Regions from separate parts of the Homo sapiens genome. Here regions 2 and 3 are each linked to region 1. Evidence: promoter capture Hi-C in 16 types of primary human blood cells and fetal thymus (Javierre and others, 2016). All regions are on one chromosome and are shown on one strand. Each heading gives the region's core, a stretch centred on a gene start or on the middle of the fragment in contact. The rest is flanking DNA. Distances are from core to core; before and after follow the strand shown.

Region 1 (3,196 bases), core at 81-2,580:
CTGACCTCGTGATCCACCCGCCTCCGCCTCCCAAAGTGCTGGGATTACAGGCGTGGGCCACCGCGCCCGGCCTGTATTTTGTATTCTTAAAACCACCTAGGGCAGTACAAGACACAAGGAACTAGACACTTACTGGTTTTGAGAGTAAGTGGACAATGTTGGAGCAGGATAGGGGAGACCTGTCATTCGTGCAGTGCCACCGTGTAATCCTATACTTTGTGTTTACAGGATTTTACAGTGCACCTGGAACTTTTGTGTACCACACATCATTAACACAAAATTAACATGGTGGTATGAGCTGGGAAGGTTAGCTATCGCTTCATTTTGCGCGTAAAACAGAGGCTTAGCCCTGGGAAATGGAAGTTTAAAGCCTCCTGCTGCTCCAGGTTCCAACCACCACCACTCCTACCCCCATGAGCGGCCGCTGCTCTCACCCGCTTCTTCTCCTCCACCTCCTGCACACACTTCACCCTCCAGCGGTCAATCTCCTGCTCGCGTTCCACTGCCCGCGCGGCCTCTGCCTCCCGCTCGGCCTCGCGTTCCCGGGCCCTCTCGCGAAGCCGCAGCCGGCGGCGCCGGACCCTCTCCAGCCTCCTCCGCGCCTCGCCCACATAGGCAGCCTGGGTCAACGGCTGTAGCCGCTCGGCCAGTTCCGCGCGCAGCGGCGCGGTCTGGGAGTACAGCAGGACCCAGGCCGCGCCGTCGGCTTCGGCCTCGCGCAGGGCCTGGCTCAGGCCGCGCAGCCGCCGCACCAGGCGCAGAGCCCGGAGCAATCGCGCGCGCACTTCGCCAAGGCTGGGCCCGGCATGCGTGCGCTGGGGCACCGGACAGCCTGCCCGCCGCGGGGTCCCGAACACCGCCTCCAGCCACTGCCGGTCGCGCAGGCGTTGGAGGGCCGCATCCCCGAGCACGTCGGCCGGCGGCGGCGGCGCCTCAGGCCACCGCGGGCTCCAGGGCGGCCCCGGGCCGGGAGGCGGTGGCCGCGGCCGCTCGCCGGCGTCGGTCCCCGGGAAGGGCCGACACTGGGGCGGCGGAGGAGGCAGCGGCGGTGGTGGCACCGGGTAGAAGGCGCCAGCGCCGCCTCCGCCGCGGGAGGCCTCCGCGGAGGCTCGGGGCTGCAGAGCCAGCGGAGGCTGAAGGAAGGGGGCGGAGGCCCCCGGAAAAGGGCCGGGCCGCTGGGGGAGAGGCGGCGGGAAAGCCGGGGAGGGCAGCGGCGGTGGCGGACAGCCGAAAGGAGCAGGAGGCGGCGGCTGCGGGGGCGGTGGGCCTGGGCGACCCTGGCCGAAGAATGGTGGCAGGGCCATGTTCACGACGGAGATGCTTTGAGAAGTGACAGGAATCTGAGTGGCTCCTCATGAGAACCTTCCGACGGAAGTGACGTCGTTACGACGCGCGACCCCTGTAGACTCGTCCCTCCGGAAGGCTCAGTGCATAAGTGGGCAGTCGTTCAACCTTCTGTCGTTCAGTTCATAAATACCGTTCTTATTGAGCATCCTAGGTGCAGAGCTACCCACTCCGCATACAGTGAGACTGAGAGATACAGAGCTTCTCTTCGTGGAACTATCTGCCTAGTATAACACACTAATCAATTAATCATGGTGAGTATCTTCGAGAAGTTGGAGAAGGTTATCCTAAGAAACTGCGGCTGCAGCTGAGATCTGGAAGATAAATAGTTAAATAGAAAAAGAGAGGGAAGCACAGTGCAGATGAGAACATGTGCAAAGGCCCTAGTAAATAGGAGTGTGACCAACTACCCATTTTCTTAGAAAAATGAATTATTTTTACTTTTCTCCTTTCACCCCACCTCCTATTTAGCTCTTTAGGAATGCAATTATAGGGTGGGTGCTGTGGCTCACGTCTGTAATCCCAGCACTTTGGGAGGCCGAGGCAGGCGAGATCGGCCTGTAGTCCCAGCCATTGGGGAGGCTGAGGTGGGAGGATCACCTGAGCCCTGGGAGGTAAAGACTGCAATGAGCCACGATAACGCCACTGCACTCCACCCTGGGCGACAGAATGACACCTGTCAAAAAAAAAAATCCAATTAACCTTTACCTTCTCTCCACCAGACACTCTCTACACTGTAAGCTTATCTAATTATGTGTTCGCTTATTAGTTCCAAGGACCGAAGCTTAAACCAGGGACCTCTGGAACTTTCCCATACCAGGGGATTGCCTGGGGACAACTGTCAATTTACAACCTAGCTCCCCGCTACCCCCCACCCCCCCTCCGCCTTCGCCCCAGCCTCCATGGCGCCAACCAGATCACTGATGGATACATAGGAGCAAGTCCCATAGACCCAGCACCTCCTTGGTCCCTCCCCACCCCTTGCATGCCATCCAGGTCAACCAAGTCCCGTGCACCCCCCACTTTTTTTGAGACAGAGTCCCTCTGTCACCCAGGCTGGAGTGCAATGACGCACTCTCCACTCACTGCAACCACTGCATCCCAGGTTCCAGTTATTCTTGGTGCCTCAGCCTCCCTAGTCAGTTGCTGGGATTATAGACCCCTGCTGCCACGCCTGGCTAATTTTTGTGTTTTTAGTAGAGAGGGGGTTTCACAATGCTGGCTAGGCTGGTCGTAAACTCCTTACATCAGGTGATCCGTCCACCTTGGCCTCCCAAAGTGCTGGGGTTACAGGTGTGAGCCACCACACCTGGCCACTTTCTTTCTTTTTTTTTTTTTATGAGACAGAGTCTCCCTGTGTCGCCCAGGCTGGAGTGCAGTGGCGTGATCTTGGCTCATTGTAAGCTCTGCCTCCTGGGTTCATGCCATTCTTCTGCCTCAGCCTCCCGAGTAGCTGGGATTACAGGTGCCCACCACCATGCCTGGCTAATTTTTTTGTATTTTTAGTGGAGATGGGGTTTCACCATGTTAGCCAGGATGGTCTCGATCTCCTGACCTCATGATCCGCCTGCCTTGGATCATGTTGGGATTACAGGCGTGAGCCACCGTGCCCGTGGCAGTCACTTTCTTTTTACCATTCTCTTACTTGTTATTTGAATTTGCAAGCTGCAGGGAACTGGACCTGCCTTAGGTTACAGGACTATGTCTAGTGGGAAGCCTGATAGAATGCCAGTTTTGGCCTGTAATCCCAGCACTTTGGGAGGCCGAGGCGGGTGGATTGCCTGAGCTCAGGAGTTCAAGGCCAGCCTGGGCAATATGGTGAATTCCTGTCTCTACTAAAACACAAAAATTA
Region 2 (3,504 bases), core at 971-3,470, 1.0 Mb before region 1:
CTCTCATACTAGGCTTTCTCCCCATAAGGCTCATTTAATTGTATTATATTCTTTATATGCCACTAAACCCTGAAATTAAATATCATCCTTATTAAATTTCTCTAGTTTTCTAGTTTCTAGATTTGAGAGGTTTGGCTTTACTTCTTTAAAAAGAAAGAAGGGCCGGGTGTGGTGGCTCATGCCTGTAATCCCAGCCTTTGGGAGGCCGAGACAGGCAAATCACTTGAGCTCAGGAGTCCAAGACCAGCCTGGGTAACATAGCAAAACCTCATCTCTACAAAAAAATACAAAAATTAGCTGGGCATGGTGGTGCATGCCTATGGTCCCAGTCAGTCAGGAGGCTGAGGTGGGAGGATGGCTTGAGCCCTGGAGGTGGATGGAGGCTGCAGTGAGCAGTGATTGCACCACTGCACTCCAGCCTGATTACCAGAGTGAGACCCTGTCTCAAAAAAAAAAAAAAAAAAAAAAAAATTTAAAAGAAAGTTCTCCTCATATTACTCCCCACACTAACATTCTTCCACAGCACTGCACTATTAAAATTCTTCATTTATATTTAAAACCTTCAGTATCCAACTGCATCCCACTACCTAGAACAATGTTCAACCACATCTTCACATTTAACCACAAACCCTATCCTATAGCCCCATCTATCTGTCATTTCCTATCTTCTTACCTCCATGCTTTTAAGTTTCCTCTTAGTATGCCCTCTGACCCTCTACATATCTAGATCCTAATTATTCTTTGAGGCCCAACTCAAGTGGCTCCTTCTCTTTATTTCAAAGTCTTTCTAGATCCCCTCAGTCAGAGACTAGTATCTCCCTTTCTCTGAATTTCTGTATCTCTTATTCAGTCTACAGCCTTCTATTACATACTCTATTTTTGCATATATGGGTTTCCTTCAATATCAGTTTGAAGACTAGAGTCACTCTCTTCCAAAGTTGTATCTCCAGTGCCCTACCATCCCTAGATTATGTGGACAGAGATCTGGCAGGACAGGGATGTGGTCTGCTTTGTGGAGATCATTTTACTCACAATTATCATCTGCCTGGAGGCTGATTAGGTAAGTCCTGCCTCTAGTAAGAGAGGTCAACCAAATTAGCTCCCAGAGTATTTCCTAACCCTGGCTTCCTTCTACTGGCCTATAATCCTTACTTGAATTATATTTGTATTCTATGGTTAGATCTCTCAATATTATATCCAGTCTTTTCGGTTTTCAAAAACAATACAACATAATTAAAAAAACAAACAAACAAAAAGTTGTAAGGCAATTGTGAAGTGGTGGAAAGTGCATTACGGTTAGAACCAGTAGGCACAGCCTTTGCTTTTTGGCTCTGTTCCTTACTGGCAGTGTGACCTCCAGGTAGTTCTTTAACCTTTGTTTCCTCATTTGTACAATAAAGATGGCCCCAAGGGTTAAACAGAAAATATTTAATATGCAACATGGAAGAGTGTGTATGTGTGTGTGTGCGTTATGTGTGTGTACACAAGGCCTTGCTACAAGAAGCCAATCTCGTTCTCTTCTTTCGGGGACCTCTGCTTACTGACTTTGCCGGATAGAGTGGCTGTGACCTTGGGCCAGTCCCCAACTCGACTGTCACCCACAAGCGCCCTCAGCGGTAGCAAGAGTGCGTGTCCAGGAGCTAGAGAACGAGGCTCTAGTAGTGCAATCAGGCCAGCTTTGCTTCCTAACCAGGCACCCTAGACTTGTGGTCTCCCCACAAGTCTTGGAATGGTTACTAAGACGTAGGCCACACGTGGAGAATGAAGCTTTTAAGACCTCTGGGTTCGGCTTGCCCCAGGTTTACGAAGAGCCCAGTTCCCAGAAAGACCCACACCCCCCACGTGACTTAGGACCCCGAAGAAAGCGCCTGCTACGCCCCGGACAAGATCTGGCCAAAAACAAACAAACAAACAAACAAAAAAAAAGGTCTCCCCTCCCAGCCCTCAGGTGAGGCCATCATCCCCGCACCCCTCAGCTCCGGCCTGCACCTATAACGCCAAATGCTGTGCTGGGTAAAATTAATTACCATAAACTTCTAGCGCTTTCTCTTCCATGATCCGGGGCTGCCGGGCAGCTCCCGGCTCAGAGAGGCCGGAGAGCCACAGGACTCTGCTCAGCGTCCAGGAGAGCAGCCCGGACACCCGCTGCATCTTCACGCTCAGCCATCCCTGGCGACTGTCCCAATCGCGCCACCGTCTCTCAGCAGCCTCGGGATTGATCAACTTCCTGGTCTTCAAATGGGCCGAGACAAGCCTAAAGGTTCAGGAGAGCAGAGAAAAGGCGGGGCCAGACGGAGTAGCTCGAAGGACCTAGGGAAGGGGCCTCAAGGACTACAAGTTCCAGCGTGCTTTGCTCGATTTCGGCGGGACAAAAACAATCTTCGCGGCTCGTCAGCACATTGCATGCTGGGATGCGTGAGCTATTTTCTTCGGAAGGCAGCGAATTGTATTCTGGGACTTGTAGTGTCCGCCTGGTAGAAGTGGATGTAACGGTCTGTTAACCGCGACTGACTCACTCAGTATCCGTGATAAGTTAAAGATGAATCCTGAAGGGGTAGGGGAAAGGAGATCTTGAGTTCTCCAGCACGGAGACTCTTTACAATTATTTCTCCGCGGGATCCGCTGACAGCCAACGTCTTTCTTACTTCCTGATCGGACAGGAAGTAGGTTTCAGTTGCTGTGAAAAGGGATGTCATGGGAAGCCAGTGAGGTAGTCAGGTATGGCATGGGGAGGGCTTTTTGGCTTTCTCGTCTCCTAAGGGACTCAGTCCAGCACAGCTTCCCACCTTTGAACGAATATTTCTGCTAATGGCCTCCAAAGACAACTTAGAACATAAGTTTTCCCGTGTCTAATGTGTACAGTGGTGACATAATGGAGATCGCCATCCTTAAAAGTGTATCTTGGCCGGGCGCGATGGCTCACGCCTATAATCCCAGCACTTTGGGAGGCCGAGGCGGGCGGATCACCTGAGGTCAGGAGTTCGAGACCAGCCTGGCCAACATGGGCAAACCCCGTCTCTACTAAAAAATACAAAAATTAGCTGGGCGTGGTGGCAGGGGCCTTAATCCCAGCTACTTGGGAGGCAGAGGCAGGAGAATCGTTTGAACTCAGGAGGCAGAGGTTGCAGTGAACCAAGATCGAGCCATTGCACTCAAGCCTGGGGGAGAAGAGCGAGACTTCCCTCAAAAAAAAAAAAAAAAAAAAAAGTGTATCTTAAGCCCTCTGGTGTTCGTGGGTGTGATGGATGCCAGTAACAAAATCGATTTTATTTTATCCATCCATCCCTCCGATCAAATTTGTAGGTACTAATTTGCCATAGGTGATCCATAGGCATGGAAGATACAAAGATAAAACGCTGCCCCCGCCTTCAAACAGCTCACATGACCTGTGAGGGAGTCCATCCCTGAATTTGCAGTTACAACCAAACTAACTAAACCTCTTGTCAAAGTTGGTGACAAATGCCATTTCTATTGAGAAGATAGGATTATCTTGCAGAATTGTCC
Region 3 (3,114 bases), core at 63-2,562, 1.9 Mb before region 1:
TAAAACTTCGAAGGGAGAACAACAGATGAGAGACACAGAGCCCTGGCAGGGTGGACTCCTAGTCCCACACCTTCTTAGCCTTTTGCTTCCACATTACCTGAACCAGTCAACACCCCTTTCACAACAGCTAATCCGGTTGGGTTTCTGCCACTAGCAAATGAAAGGGGACTGAACAATACATCCACAAAACAGAGAATTAGCCTAAGACAATAAATAATAAAGGATTAACTTGAGTATAACAGAATGCTGTTTCCTCCCTATATTCGTCATCAATTAAGTGAGAGCCTACTGAAGAGTAATGAATATTACCATCACTGCTAACAGTGCCTTATGGGTTTCAAAGAACTTTCACATTTAGTATTTAAGTTTCACTGGAACCCTATGAAGTATCTTGTTTCATATCCATTTTACAGATGAGAAAACTGAAATGTCCAGTGCCTGTGTGACTTGTCACAGCGGTTTTGCAGCAGAGCCAAGACTAAATTCAAATCTTACTCTCTAAATTCCCGTGGCCCGCCTCACAGGATGCTTGCAGTTTCATGGGGCACAGACCTGTAGCACAAGACTTCCCAGATTTAAAAATCCATCCTCCTGCGAGGAGAGGGGAGCGATCAGCGTAGCAGATTCTCTAAATACTCATTGTATTTGGCTCTGGTCTGTGTGGCGTGAAGAAGGGGGCACGAGTGAGGTTCGAGTTAGCATGGTAACCATTCTTTCTCAGCTCTGTGACTGAGGGGCTGCGGGAGGGGGTTATAGTGGTGCTGGGCATGGCCTCGGGGAGAAGCTGGATAATGCCCTCTGCAGATAACCCGTAGGCTGCGCCACAGCAGCGCCAAGGAAAGAAAGCATCTCTGCTCCAGGTCTCGGCGGAAGAGATGCGGGAACTACGGGGCTCTGATTCTGAGGTCCTGGATTTGGAAGGCGTCTGCACACAAAGAAATAACAAAGTTAAGTTCCCGCGGCTCGACCAGCAGAGTACGAAACGGGGCCTCCCTTCCCAGCTCGGGTGGAAACGCCTCCACCCTGTCACCCCGCCCATAGCAGGTCTTTTATCCGCTGGAGCCGCCTGGACAGTCCTCGCGGGGCACGCCCGAGGCTCCCCGGAGGAACTACAAGTCCCATGAAGTCCCGGGGCGCGGGCGGTGATGACGAAGCCCTCGCCGATTGGCCGCACGGGGCGGGGCGCGCAGGCCTTCTCCGAGAGGAGGGGCGGGGCGTGGGGCGGGGCGAGCAGCGGCGGATTGGCGGGCACGCCCCCTCGCCCGCGGCCCCCTCCCCGCCTCTCTCCACCGCCTCCTCTGGCTCCCCGGTCAGAGGGCCGGAGCGAGAAGATGGCGAAGACGTACGATTATCTCTTCAAGCTCCTGCTGATCGGCGACTCGGGGGTAGGCAAGACCTGCCTCCTGTTCCGCTTCTCAGAGGACGCCTTCAACACCACCTTCATCTCCACCATCGGTGAGGGAGGGGCCGCGGCCCGGGACCGGGTAGAGAATTGGGGGGCGGGTACTAGGGGACGGGGAAAGGGCGGGGGGCGCTTGGGAGCCCGGGAGAGGAGACCCCGGGGACTGCAAGGTGGCGGGGGCACTGAGAGGGGCGAGGGCGTGAGGGAGAGGGGCGAGGGCGTGAGGGAGAGAGGCGAGCGGGAACGTGAGGCTAAGGGCGAAGGGGGAACTTGGGGGCAAAGGAACGGGAAGGGGAACAGAGGAACAAGGACTAGGGGTATTGGGGGAACGAGAGGGTTCGGAGACTGACAGGGAGGGGTCTTTGAGGGACAAAATGTGTTGGGGGGAAGACTCAGGAAATCTCATGTAGAGAGAAGGGGATAGTGGACGTGCCAATGATTAAAAGACAGGAGAGGAAGGAAATGTGAAGGGGGAAATGAGGGATGGGGGCAATGAGAGGGATGTGAAGTAAAGGGACAGAGGACACAAGGGACAGAGAGGTGAGAACCAGGCAACTGGAAGGGAATTCAGGGGAATGAGCGGTCAGGAGGTGAGGAAGAAGGGGACGGCTGGCCACAGGAGGTCTGGACTGAGATGTCGTAGGAGGGGACAGAAGAAAATTGTAGGTGGAAGAAGAGTTCAAGGGATCAGAGGGCAGAATGAGGATACTTGATGGAGAAAGTAAAGGGATCTGGGTGTGAGACAGAAAGGAAAAGAGGAAGCAACATCATAGTAAAGGGAGGTTGAGCAGAGAAGACAGAGGAGATGGAAAAGAGAGGAAATGGAAAGTAGTGGGGCGCAAGACTTGCTATAGTAACTGATTACCATTTTCTCTTCACTTCCTTTGGATCAAGTGCAGGAGAAAGCAAAATGTGACTAATGATGGAATAATGTCTATAGAGCGTTAATTTGTTCTGTGAGTGTTAATGGATGTTAAGGGAATTGGTGACTTTTGGAAATGATGTGGTCAGGAAAATATGGTTCACCTCTTTACTACCATCTCCTGAGAAGCAAGACTTCTCAGTATTTTAAATCCTTCGGTTTGAATGTTTAACAGCTTCTCAGCCAAGGAAATGAACTTACATTCTACCTGCCTCCCTGTATATTTTGCTTTGGTTCTAATTATTGTTAAGTGAATCACAACATGTGATATACCTCTCAGTTACTTCCAATTGAATCAAGAGTTTTTCTGATCCTGGCTGGGAGCTGTCCTTTCTACTTTTGTACTGGAAGACACTGTGTTCAGGTAATAAGATCTCTTAACTTATCATAAACTGAAGACCAAGTCAAAGCTGGTTTTAAGCTGTTTTAGAAGTGACCACCTTAACATCATTTCTCCTGTTAAATAGTTGCAGGTTAATTAAGTACCTTAAGAATACCTCAGCTTTTGGTTGTGTTGGTGATGTTTCTGGCCTCTAATAGTGGCTTATTTAGTCATCTTTCGTATGGTTCTTACAGCATATTTCACCATGAATTTCTGGGTTGGGAAATAATAGAGAGCTAGTGCTTTGGTAATACGTGTGTTTAAATATTTGTGTATTTTTAAGGATAATTTATCTTTTTTTAAAAAAAGAGTATTTGGTATAGAACACTCTTTAAGTATTAGTAAAGGCTATGGTTTGTTTGCTCATTCTGGATTCTTTCATATAGATTGAATGGTCTAAAATCTCCT

Evidence for each region. Contacts are between HindIII fragments. The CHiCAGO score rates a contact against its expected background, and 5 or more counts as called.
Region 2: a contact is called between the fragment with the promoter of CIAO2A here and the fragment with the promoter of PDCD7 in region 1, in 5 of 17 cell types (naive CD8 T cells, total CD4 T cells, fetal thymus and 2 more). The highest score is 13.7, in naive CD8 T cells.
Region 3: a contact is called between the fragment with the promoter of RAB8B here and the fragment with the promoter of PDCD7 in region 1, in 2 of 17 cell types (naive CD8 T cells and fetal thymus). The highest score is 11.1, in naive CD8 T cells.

Annotation. Positions count from the first base shown.
Region 1 is chr15:65,132,478-65,135,673 of GRCh38, forward strand. PDCD7 (programmed cell death 7) reads right to left here and starts at 1,331. Exons shown (of 5, transcript NM_005707.2): 1 at 435-1,331. The coding sequence starts at 1,304. RefSeq lists silencers at 557-956, 1,017-1,226 and an enhancer at 1,517-1,616. The HindIII fragment of the contact is 3,462 bases long and covers 1-2,083 here.
Region 2 is chr15:64,091,618-64,095,121 of GRCh38, forward strand. CIAO2A (cytosolic iron-sulfur assembly component 2A) reads right to left here and starts at 2,221. Exons shown (of 5, transcript NM_032231.7): 1 at 2,028-2,221. The coding sequence starts at 2,151. RefSeq lists enhancers at 1,296-1,858, 1,494-1,543, 1,904-2,633. The HindIII fragment of the contact is 2,171 bases long and covers 1,766-3,504 here.
Region 3 is chr15:63,188,294-63,191,407 of GRCh38, forward strand. RAB8B (RAB8B, member RAS oncogene family) reads left to right here and starts at 1,313. Exons shown (of 8, transcript NM_016530.3): 1 at 1,313-1,455. The coding sequence starts at 1,332. It overlaps LOC101928972 (a long non-coding RNA gene), which reads right to left and starts at 1,138. Exons shown (of 4, transcript XR_932355.4): 1 at 553-1,138. RefSeq lists an enhancer at 738-887 and a silencer at 1,068-1,397. The HindIII fragment of the contact is 3,523 bases long and covers 1-3,114 here.